Linked DNA regions of Homo sapiens: region 2 is linked to region 1. The links are contacts of gene promoters, found by promoter capture Hi-C in blood cells and fetal thymus (Javierre and others, 2016). All regions are on one chromosome and are shown on one strand. Each heading gives the region's core, a stretch centred on a gene start or on the middle of the fragment in contact. The rest is flanking DNA. Distances are from core to core; before and after follow the strand shown. Region 1 holds the start of HAPLN4 (hyaluronan and proteoglycan link protein 4). Region 2 overlaps RFXANK (regulatory factor X associated ankyrin containing protein).

Region 1 (5,675 bases), core at 1,999-4,498:
CTCTGCCACCAACTAGCACTGTCCTGGGCAAGGCTCTAACCTCTCTGAGCCTGTTGTCCATCTGCTGGTAATAGCTGTCTCCCTTGGGGTTTTTAGGAAATTAAATTAGAGACTCCTGAGAACTCTTCAACTAAGCACCTGCCACAGAAAATGTCCAGTAAAGGAGAGCTGCTGCTATTATTGTTGTTATTTGTTATTGTTAGGGAGGTCAGCAAGCAAGGGCCCTGAAATCTCACCTAGAATCTTCTAAAGAGAACTGGAAAAGGCCAATCAAATGGGAGGGAATTCTTCAAATAGAAACCCCACCTCCCAGCTCCAGGGTGAGCCAATCAGAGCATCCCATCTTCCAGCTACAGTGATTGGCTCACAGTTGGGCACATGACTCAAGCTGAGCCAGTGAGGGACAACTCTGGGACTCTAGCTGCTGCTCCTAGGAAATCAGTTGCTAAGCAGGGAAGTGAAAGCCTAGGCACTGTGGTCTTGGTTCCAGAAAGAGAAGCCTGTCGGAAGAAAGCCTACCTGGGAAGCAGAGCAGAAGGATGGTTCCTGACACGGTGTGAGTGCCTGGATCTCACTGTGCCTGAATCCTATCCCAGGACTTCTCAGTGTCCTCATTGTGGACATTTTGGACTGGATCACTTTTATTTTATTTTATTTATGTATTTATTTATTTATTTTTGAGATGGAGTCTCGCTCTGTCGCCCAGGCTGGAGTGCAGTGGCACGATCTCCACTCACCGCAACCTCCACCTCCCGGGTTCAAGAGATTTTCCTGCCTCAGCCTCCCAAGTAGCTAGAATTACAGGAATGCACCACCATGCCTGGCTAATTTTTGTATTTTTACTAGAGATGGGGTTTTGGCATGTTGGCCAGGCTGGTCTTGAACTCCTGACCTCAGGTGATCCGCCTGCCTCAACCTCCCAAAGTGCTGGGATTACAGTCGTGAGCCACCATGCCCGGCCTGGATCACTCCTTGTGGGGGACTATCCTGTGCCTGGTAGGATGTATAGCTGCATCCCTGGCCTCTACCCACTAGGGGCTAGTAGCAACTGCCTTCTCCAGATGTGACAACGTAAAATATCTCCAGACATCGCCAATGTCCCTGGGGAGGAAAATCACCCAGAACCAGATATGGGGGCTCTACCCCAACCAACCTTCTAAATGCCTGCAGGCCAACTTGATTTGGTTTATGTCCCTTGCCATCCCCGCCCCCCTCCTTCCTCAGAAGCAAGGTTTATCCTCCCCACCGGCTGATCACCTTCCAGGTCCAGCTTGACCATGCCAGCGTCATCTTCCAGCTCATTGGTGACTTCGCACTCATAGCGCCCGTAGTCTTGCAGCGTGACGTTGCGGAGGACCAGGGAGGCATCCCCAGGCCCGTCGCCCTGCAGCTCAGCCCGCCCACGGTAGCTGCCGAATGCCCGGTGCTGGGGGCCTAGTGCCACGAAGACGTCGGTGAAGGCCAGCGGGTCCACCACCTTTGTCCACTTGAGCCGGACGCCGTCGTGACCGTGGGCGGCTGCCTCATAGTGGTAGCGGCAGGGCAAGACGATGGTGCCACCACGGTGGCTTACCACCTGCCCAGGCGCTGTCTGTACCACTACCGAGCCCGACTCACCCTCTGAGGACAACCAAGCAGGGTTCAGAGGAGGGGCCTAGGGGCAGAAGGGGGCCTCTGGGGAAGGTGTCTCTGGGGAGGGGAACGTGGGAAGACTCGGGTGGGGGTCGGGGAATCAGAAGGGTCCAGGGGCTCAGGGAGAGGGCGAGGGGCTCAGATGGGGAGTGGCTGGGGGAACCGCGGACGTCAGGAACGCCCTACCCGCTACCCCTCTCCGCACTTGGCCACTTCTGCTTTTCGCGGAGAAGACCACTTTTAGCGGCCCTGACTCACCCAGCACGTGCACGACCTTCTTCCGGCCACGCTGCGCCCCCGCAGGGGCTGTGAGCAGCAGGACGCCCCAGGCCGCGGCCCAGAGCGCGCCGGGACCGAGGGCCGCCCGAGCGCACACCTGGGGGGCGGGCACGGGGCGCTCAGTCCAGCCTCCCAGCCTTGGCTTTTCGGAGGCCTGGCTCCCTCCCGGGCCTGCCTTCCCCACAGCGAGGACCTCTCTCACGCCCATGTCCCCACCCTTTCCGGGGTCCTGGAGAACTCCCCCTCCTCCTCTTGGGACCTCACATCCTAGCTTCTGCAAGAACCCACGCCCCTAGACTCCCCCCCGCCCTCAGTCCTGCCCCAGATCCCGCCTCATTCCCCCCCACCCCAAAACCCGAGGCTCGCTGCCCCGCCCCCTTCTGGCCCTGGCCCGGGCCGGGGATAGGGGGGTGGGGAAGAGCTGGAGGAGCGGCGGCAGCAAGGTTATCCGTGCGCCAGGAGACTGCAGCAAACCGGGCCGGGGCGGGCAGGGAGGGGGGAGAGCTGGAGAGAAAGAGGGAGAGACGCGGGGAGAGAACAGGGACAGAGAGAAAGGCAGGGAGAGGCAGAGAAGAGAGTGCGCGACACAGAAAAAGGGGAAGGGAAGAGAGAGAGGCAGAGATGGAGAGGGAGAGACAGATGGAAAAGAAGAGACAGATGTAGAGGGAGAGACAGAGATGGAGAGGGAGAGACAGAGAGGCAGAGGGAGAGACAGAGGGGCAGAGGAAGATACAGAGATGGAGAGGGAAAGACAGAGATGGAAAGGGAGAGACAGAGAGGAAGAGACAGAGAAGCAGAGGGAGAGAGAGAGAGGCAGAGGAAGAGACAGAGATGGAGAGGGAGAGACACAGATGGAGAGGGAGAGACAGAGAGGCAGAGGGAGACAGAGAGGCAGAGGGAGAGACAGAGAGGCAGAGGGAGCGACAGAGAGGGAGAGGGAGAGACAGAAAGGGAGAGGGAGAGACAGGAGAGTGCCAGAGGCAGAGAGACTCAGAGAAGAGGAGGGAGAGATAGGGACAGGGAAAGACAGAAACGGAGAGGAGAGGAAAAAGGCAGAGAGGATGACAGAGATGGAGAGAGGCAGGGAGAAATGGAGAGGGAGAGAACCTAGAGTGCCAAAAAGAGAGATCAAAGAGGGTGAGAGACAGAGAAAAGGAAGAGACAGAAGAAACTCAGAGGGATATAGATTCAGAGGCAGAGAGATATAGAATCCAAGATTGGGGAGACGGGGCACACACCACCCGCGCCCGCAGCCCCACTTACCATCTTGCCCGCGCGGCCCCCGCCGAGCGGCCCCTACGCACCCGGACTGCGCTCCCCGCACACCCGGTTAAGACTGGGCAGGTCCCTGCAGGCGGCGCAATCCCGGCGTCTGCCTGCAAGGGGAGGAGGAAGGCGGGCGAGGCGGGGTGTATTAAAGGGGCCGCGGGGGCCCACGCTCCCCTGGAGCAGTGGCTGGAGCGCGGGCGGAGAAAGAAGCGCTCTGGACTTGGAGTGCAGAGCTAGTTCCCTCACCCTGCTAGCTGAACTTAGGCCAGGGAAGAACCTCTCTGAGCCTCAGTTTAACCATCTTTGAAATGGAGGAGGGGGCTGAGTCTTCTATCTTGGTTACTGTGCTTTGGCAGGGGACCTGGGGGATCTGGTGAAAGAGATCATTTGGCCTGCAGGCCACCTGTCCATTGGGTAGTCATAGTGGAGTCCTGGTCTCCAGCACCCCAAAGGCGCTCCCTGTGCAGGGTGGGGGCCTCACGATAGTCACACTCTGCTGTGGACTGGAGCCACAGGCCCCAATTCAAGTCTGCCCCTCACTGGCTGTGAGACCTTGGAGGAGACAGTTGGCCTCTCTGAGCCTGCTGCTGACTCTTTGGTGAAGATCCAGTAGCTAGACATACAGTAGATCTCCGGTAGGGGTTGGGAGGGGCAAGAAAAAGGGACATCTAGGCCGGGCGCGGTGGCTCACGTCTGTAATCCCAGCACTTTGTGAGGCCAAGATGGGAGGATCACCTGAGGTCAGGAGTGCGAGGCCAACCTGACCAACATGGAGAAACTCTGTCTCTACTAAAAATACAAAATTAGCCAGGTGTGGTGGCACATGCCTGTAATCCCAGCTACTCAGGGGGCTGAGGCAGGAGAATTGCTTGAACCCAGGAGGTGGAGGTTGTGGTGAGCCAAGATCGTGCCATTGCATATCAGCCGGGGCAACAAGAGTGAAAACTCCGTCTCAAAAAAAAAAAAAAAAAAGAAAAAGAAAAAGAAAGAAAGAAAAGGAAAAGGGACATCTGGTCAAGGTCCCTGACTTACTCCAGGCCCAAGTCGCCCCTAAACCTGGCCTTTCACCCAATTTCAAAAAATCAAACAATAGCAAACAGTGAGTCTTTCTCCTAACACCTTGGCTTCCTTCCAGGACTCAGTTTCCCCTAAAATGAGCCCAACCCGACCAGATAGGAGAGGCAGAGTTGTGGTTTCTGTGGTCCAACAGGCTGGGGCTCCATCTCTTAGCTCAGCCATGCCTTGGGGACTGAGCGGGGGAATGATCTCAGACCAGGACCTTCACCTCCTGCAGCCTTGGTTTCCCCATCTGGAATATGGAGTGAGATCCAGCATGTAGCAGTCAAGGTATACAGTAGGTGCTTAATAAATGTATCATGCTATTAGTTATGATTTATTGGTAGAGCAGGAACTTTTCTCTCTGGCCATGACCTTGGGCAGGTCTCTTGTCCATACTGAGCCTCGGTTTTCCCATCTGGAAGATGAGCCGTGCATACCAACCAGAGGCCGCCTTCTGCTATCCCAGCACCTCTCACTCCTGGCAACCACGATGGCAGTGATAGGTGGGCCCTCATGGGGGCCAAGAAGAGGATCCCTTGCCCCTGCACCCTGAAACACTTAGGCAGTGATATTTTGGAAATTGAAAGGGTTTTTACTGAAAGGATCCATGGGGGGATGATGGGTAAGTTCTGGAAGGGGTAGAAGCGTTTGTGTGGGAGTTGGAGCATGGTGACAGCTGTGGGAGGCTCTCCTTGCAGGAACACTTGGTCGTTGGTCTCCATCCCACCCACTGGACTGAAACTACCATAGCCAAGACTAAAGACACCCGGAGATGTCCCTCCTGTCTCTAAAACACCCAACCCCCGCTTCCCCAGGTAGGGCTGACTGGGCACGTAAACAGAGTCCTGGGTCCTGAGTCCACAGCTCTCTCAATGCTGCTTCTTGTGGAGGGCTAGGGGGTCGGAGGGTGGTGGCTGGTGGAAGAATGCGGGCCACTGAAGGCAACGGTAGGCCAGCAGGTGGGGGCCCAGCGCATACAGCAGATTGCACACGAAGAAGCAGCCCCAGGTGTCCTCAGGCACACGGTAGGTGAAGGGTGTGCGCAGGTGCATGGAAGCCCCCATGTGCGAGAACTGTGCCTGGTAGCCAGACAGGGAAGATGGATGTCAGGGGCCAGGAAGGAACTGAAATCCCAGCATCACCGACAGCCCCCCAGGTAGGTCAGGCAGAACCCAGGGGATGCCCATCCCCACCTCTCGGGCTTTGCTCATCTATCTGTTTCCCATCTCCAGTCCATCTATCTGTTTTTTTTTTTTTTTTTTTTTGAGACACAGTCTCATTCTGTTGCCCATGCTGGAGTGCAGTGGTGCAATCTCGGTTCACTGCAACCTCCGCTGCCTCCTGGGTTCAAGTGATTCTCGTGCTTCAGCCTCCTCTGAGTAGCTGGGACTACAGGCGTGCACCTCTATGCCCAGTTAATTTTTTGTATTTTTAGT
Region 2 (5,675 bases), core at 2,949-5,448, 62 kb before region 1:
AGAGAGTAGAGTGAGTGAATGGTGGAGTCCCAGGCACTGCCTTTGGTAGCTCCAAGACCCCAGGGAGATACCGAAGGCAGTAGCATGGTAGCTCATGCCTGTAATCCCAGCACTTTGGGAGGCCACGGCAGGAGAATTGCTTGAGCCCAGGAGTTTGAGACCAGCCTGGGCGACAGAGCAAGACTCCATCTCTACCAATATATATATATTTTTAATTTGCTGGGTATGGTGGCACCTGTAGTTTCAGCTGCTCAGGAGGCTGAGGTGGGAGGTTGGCTTGAGCCCAGGAGGTTGAGGCTGAAGTGAACTGTGATCACACCACCGCACTCCAGCCTGGACAACAGAGCAAGACTCTGTCTCAAAAAAAAAAAAAACCCCAATAGCTGGGTGTGGTGGCTCATGCCTATAATCCCAGCACTTTGGGAGGCTGAGGCAGGTGGATGATTTGAGGTCAGGAGTTTGAAATTAGCCTGGCCAACATAGCGAAACCCCGTCTCTACTTAAAATACAAAAATTAGCCAGGTGTGGTGGTGGGCGCCTATGATCCCAGCTACTCGGGAGGCTGAGGCACAAGAATCGCTTGAACCCAGGAGGCAGAGGTTGCAGTGAGCCGAGATCACGCCACTGTACTCCAGCCTGGGGGACAGACGGAGACTCCATCTCAAACAACAACAGCAACAAAAAAAAACAGATGGGCTTCTGTCCTGAAGCCTCAGAGACATCTACTGAGGGGAAACTGACGCCTGTTGTCTGTTTCCCAGCAGGCAGCTCCCTGAAGCACTCCACCACTCTCACCAACCGGCAGCGAGGGAACGAGGTGTCAGCTCTGCCGGCCACCCTAGACTGTGAGTGGGCCCACGGTCCCCAACAAGGAGAGGAGTAGGAGGGTGGGAGGGCCTGTGAGGAGCAATCGTGGACAGAGGGTAAACTGAGGCACAGAGAAGCAAGGGGATGAGTGAGGACTCTGCCTCTGTCCTGCCCCAGCCCTGTCCATCCACCAGCTCGCAGCACAGGGGGAGCTGGACCAGCTGAAGGAGCATTTGCGGAAAGGTGCGTGTCCACACACATGTGCTGGCATGTCTGCACCTGGCTGGTGTGTGCATATGGGTGTCCATACCCACTCATGACGTGACCTGTGAGTGTCCACGTGTATGATTGTATCTAACTGTGTGTGTGACCGTGTTCATGTATGTCCATCAACATACGCTCCCCCTCATTCCCCTGTCTAACCCCAGCCCCCCACCTCGTCCCCATTTGGCAGCACTGGGGATAGGGGGCAGGGGTGCAGCCTGGTGGTATTGCCCGCCTCCTCCTGCCAGGTGACAACCTCGTCAACAAGCCAGACGAGCGCGGCTTCACCCCCCTCATCTGGGCCTCCGCCTTTGGAGAGATTGAGACCGTTCGCTTCCTGCTGGAGTGGGTGCGTCCCAGCCCAGCTGGGCAGCTGGGGGGTTCCCGGGGGCCTTAGGGTGGGCTGGGGTTTTGGCTGTGTCTGCTGGCGCCTTGTCTTTGAGATGCGGCTGCTGGCTGGGTGCAGTGGCTCATGCCTGTAATCCCAGCACTTTGGGAGGCCGAGGCGGGTGGATCACTTGAGGTCAGGAGTTCAAGACCAGCCCGGCCAACATGGGTGAAACCCTGTCTCTACTAAAAAAATACAAAAATTAGCCAGGCGTCGTGGTGGGTGCCTGTAATCCCAGGTACTCTGGAGGCTGAGGTGGGAGAACTGTGTGAACCTGGGAGGCGGAGGTAGCAGTGAGCCGAGATTGCGCCACTGCACTCCAGCCTGGGCAACAGAGCAAGACTCTATCTCCAAAAAAAAAAAAAAAGATGCGGCTGCTGTGGGTACCCCAGGATTCCTGGTTATGCCCCAATCCATCCTACCACTGTCCCTTCTTCTCCCTGCAGGGTGCCGACCCCCACATCCTGGCAAAAGAGCGAGAGAGCGCCCTGTCGCTGGCCAGCACAGGCGGCTACACAGACATTGTGGGGCTGCTGCTGGAGCGTGACGTGGACATCAACATCTATGATTGGGTGAGGGACTGCCCATCCCCAGGACCTCTCAGCCTCCTGGCCTTCATTCCTGCCTCAAATGTTCACAGAGTACTTGAAAGGTGCAGGCCTGCTCTAGGTGCCGAGAACACGAGACAGCCCCATTCCCAGCCTCACAGAGCAGAGCTCCCCATGCAGGGAAGGCAGACATGGAAACAGGCAGCTGAGATGCAGTGAACTGCGCTGCGATGGCAGATGCACAGGTGGCTACAAGAGCCCCATGTGGGCAAGGGAAATCAGAGAGGTCTTCCTGGAGGAAGGTGTCTAAGCTTGAGACCCCAGAAAGTGAGATGGGCCCAGTGATGAGCAGGAGGAACCACGTTCAACTGGAGGCCAGAGAGTACAAGGCATTTTGAGAATGAGGAAGAGGTAAACCTTTGGTTTCTCCTGCCCCTACCCACGACAGAATGGAGGGACGCCACTGCTGTACGCTGTGCGCGGGAACCACGTGAAATGCGTTGAGGCCTTGCTGGGTGAGTGGGAGTCGGGAGTGGCCCTGGGGGCCCCAGCACTCCAGCGGGCCCTGCGGGAATCCTGAGGGCAGGGAGACGCCCAAGTGTTGCTTGAAGAGTTCTTGGAGCAGGTAGTCCCTGCCTGCTCTTCTCGGAGGATGGATCAGAGGGGAGGAGGTGGTAGGACCACACGGGAGTCGGGGTCTGGGTTTAGGATCTGGCCAAGAGGCTAAGCACCTCCATCCTCCATGGTTCAGAGACCCTTCAGCCACGTTCTTCAGTGGAGACCAAGATAGCAGAGGTTGGACCCTTGTCAAAGGCCACATGGGCAACGGGCAGACCCACGGCTGCATTGTGGGGAATGAGGGGTGCCATGGGATCTCCCAGGTCCCCAGACCCCATTCTGGACTCCCAGGCCCCACCCTCCAGCGCCCTCCCCTCTCCTTTGCAGCCCGAGGCGCTGACCTCACCACCGAAGCCGACTCTGGCTACACCCCGATGGACCTTGCCGTGGCCCTGGGATACCGGAAAGGTCAGCCTGAGACACACAGAGCAGGGGTGGGGTCCCTTCCATAGGCAGGGTGACCATAAAGGGGTACATGGGACACCCCTTCAGTGGTCATACGCCGGCAGCGAGAGTGTGTTGACAGGTGTTGAGCACTGCTGTGTATCCCGCCTGGGAACATCCCAGTCCTGGCTCCTGGGGCTCCACATGTGCTGGGGTAGGGAGGACAATGGGTGTCAGTGGCTGTGGCCATGATGGGGGACACATAGGCATGAGAGGCCGAAAGAGGGGCCTCTCATCAAAGAGCCCCAAAGTGGCCAACAGAAGTCAGAGAGGCTTCCTGGAGGAAGGTGTCTTAAGGTTGAGACCCCGAGAAGTGAGGTGGGCCCAGCCCTGGGATGGGGAGGTCAGGGAAGGATTCTGGGGGACCTGAAGGGAGGGAGAATGGCATCCAGGTGGGAGGAGTGGCCCCTGCGGAGGCCTGGCAGTGAGGACACCAAGGGGTAGGCGACCAGGCCATAGTGCACAGAGCCACAGAGGCCATCCCTCTCCGTGGCGGGCAGTGGGTTTGAACAGGGGCCATAGGCAGACCCCAGTTTGACTCCATTTTCTCTGTCACAATGGGACCCCAACTTCCCCATCCATAAAATGGGGAGATCCCAATTGAACCGACCCCCTGGGGTCATGGTAGAGATGGGGTGCTTAGGAAATATCCCCCTCCTTCCTTCAGAGTTTTACTGTGTTTGGGACAGAAATCATTCCTCTTCCCTCCTCATGTTTTCGGGGGGTTTGTTTTTTTGTTCGAGGCAGAAAGTCTTGCTCTATCACCCAGGCTGGAATGAAGTGGTGCAGGCACAGCTTACTGCAGCCTCGATCTCCCAGGCTCAAGTGATCCTCCCACCACAGCCTCCCGAGTAGCTGGGACCACAGGCATTCGTCACCATGCCTGGCTAATTTTTTGTTGTTGCTTTTTTTTTTTTTTTTTTTGGACATGGAGTCTCGCGCTGTCACCCAGGCTGGAGTGCAATGGCGCCATCTCGGCTCACTGCAACTTCCACCTCCCAGGTTCAAGCGATTCTCCTGCCTCAGCCTCCTGAGTAGCTGGGACCACAGGTGCACACCATGACGCCCGGCTAATTTTTATATTTTTAGTAGAGACGGGGTTTCACCATGTTGGTCAGGCTGGTCTTGAACTCCTGACCTTGTGATCCGCCTGTGTTGGCCTCCCAAAGTGCTGGGATTACAGGTGTGAGCCACCACGCCTGGCTGTGTTGTTGTTTTTTTAGAAGAGACAGGGTCTCGCTATGTTGCCCAGGCTGGTCTCAAACTCCTGGGCTCAAGTGATCCTTCTTCCCCAGCCTCCTGAGTAGCTGGGACTACAGGCATGTACCACTCTACCCAGCTAATTTTTAAAATCTTTTTTATTTATTTTTTGAGACAGAGTCTCGCTCTGTCACCCAGGCTGGAGTGCAGTGGCACAATCTCGGCTCACTGCAACCTCTGCCTCCCAGGCAAACAATTCTCCTGCCTCAGCCTCCTGAATAGCTGGGATTACAAGTGCCTGCCACCACACCTGGCTAATTTTTTTTTTTTTTTTTTTTTTTTTTTGAGATGGAGTTTCGCTCTTGTTGCCCAGGCTGGAGTGCTATGGCGTGATCTCGGCTCACTGCAACTTCCGCCTCCCAGGTTCAAGCAATTCTCCTGCCTCAGCCTCCCAAGTAGCTGGGATTACAGGCATGCACCACCATGCCCAACTAATTTTTTGCATTTTTAGTAGAGTCAGGGTTTCTCCATGTTGGTCAGGTGATCTCAAACTCCCGACCTCAGGTGATCCACCCGCCTCAGCTTCCCAAAGTGCTGGGATTACAGGCATGAGCCACCACACCCGGCTGCACCTGGCTAATTTTTGTAGTTTTAGTAGAGATGGGGTTTCATCATGTTGGTCAGGCTGGCCTTTCCTGACTTCAAGTGATCCACCTACCTTGGCCTCCCAAAGTGCTAGGATTACAGGTGTGAGCCACCAAGCCCAGCCTAATTTTTAAATTTTTTTGGTAGAGACAGCGTTTTGCTCTGTTGCCCAAGCTGGCCTCAAATTCCTGAGCTCAAGCAGTCCTCCCCACTGGACCTCCCAAAGTGCTGGGATTATAGGTGTGAGCCACCATGCCCAGGCTCATCTTTTCATGAAAGTCACAATTCACACATTTTGCTTGGTAGGAAATATTTTTATATTAATTCTGAAAAGCTACAAAAGTGCATTTTTACAAACTTAGGGGAAGTTGAGGTTCCTGGGGTGAGTCCTCGGTTCTCCCAGCTTTGCTCTGTAATGCAGGTCTCTGCAAGGGTCCCTGTTTGTCCCCTAAGGGGAGAGCGCAGGTTGGCCTGTGCCTCCACCCCACTCCCGATTCAAGCTCACAGCCCACCTTTTCCCTGCCCCATCTCAGTGCAACAGGTGATCGAGAACCACATCCTCAAGCTCTTCCAGAGCAACCTGGTGCCCGCTGACCCTGAGTGAAGGCCGCCTGCCGGGGACTCAGACACTCAGGGAACAAAATGGTCAGCCAGAGCTGGGGAAACCCAGAACTGACTTCAAAGGCAGCTTCTGGACAGGTGGTGGGAGGGGACCCTTCCCAAGAGGAACCAATAAACCTTCTGTGCAGAATGAGGGACTT

Evidence for each region. The method cuts DNA at HindIII sites, captures the fragments that hold promoters and counts their contacts. A CHiCAGO score of 5 or more calls a contact.
Region 2: a contact is called between a fragment that was not itself captured here and the fragment with the promoter of HAPLN4 in region 1, in 2 of 17 cell types (M1 macrophages and M0 macrophages). The highest score is 6.6, in M1 macrophages.

Annotation. Positions count from the first base shown.
Region 1 is chr19:19,259,556-19,265,230 of GRCh38, forward strand. It overlaps HAPLN4 (hyaluronan and proteoglycan link protein 4), which reads right to left and starts at 3,249. Exons shown (of 5, transcript NM_023002.3): 1 at 3,175-3,249; 2 at 1,891-2,008; 3 at 1,258-1,620. The coding sequence starts at 3,177. TM6SF2 (transmembrane 6 superfamily member 2) reads right to left here. Exons shown (of 10, transcript NM_001001524.3): 10 at 4,811-5,318. The coding sequence ends at 5,109. The HindIII fragment of the contact is 10,345 bases long and covers 1-5,675 here.
Region 2 is chr19:19,196,202-19,201,876 of GRCh38, forward strand. RFXANK (regulatory factor X associated ankyrin containing protein) reads left to right here. Exons shown (of 10, transcript NM_003721.4): 4 at 762-845; 5 at 985-1,050; 6 at 1,320-1,420; 7 at 1,906-2,031; 8 at 2,456-2,522; 9 at 2,953-3,033; 10 at 5,448-5,665. The coding sequence ends at 5,518. It overlaps NR2C2AP (nuclear receptor 2C2 associated protein), which reads right to left. Exons shown (of 5, transcript NM_176880.6): 5 at 5,208-5,675. Among named protein-coding and RNA genes, the nearest start is that of NR2C2AP, 4.4 kb to the right of the region's middle. The HindIII fragment of the contact is 3,765 bases long and covers 2,317-5,675 here.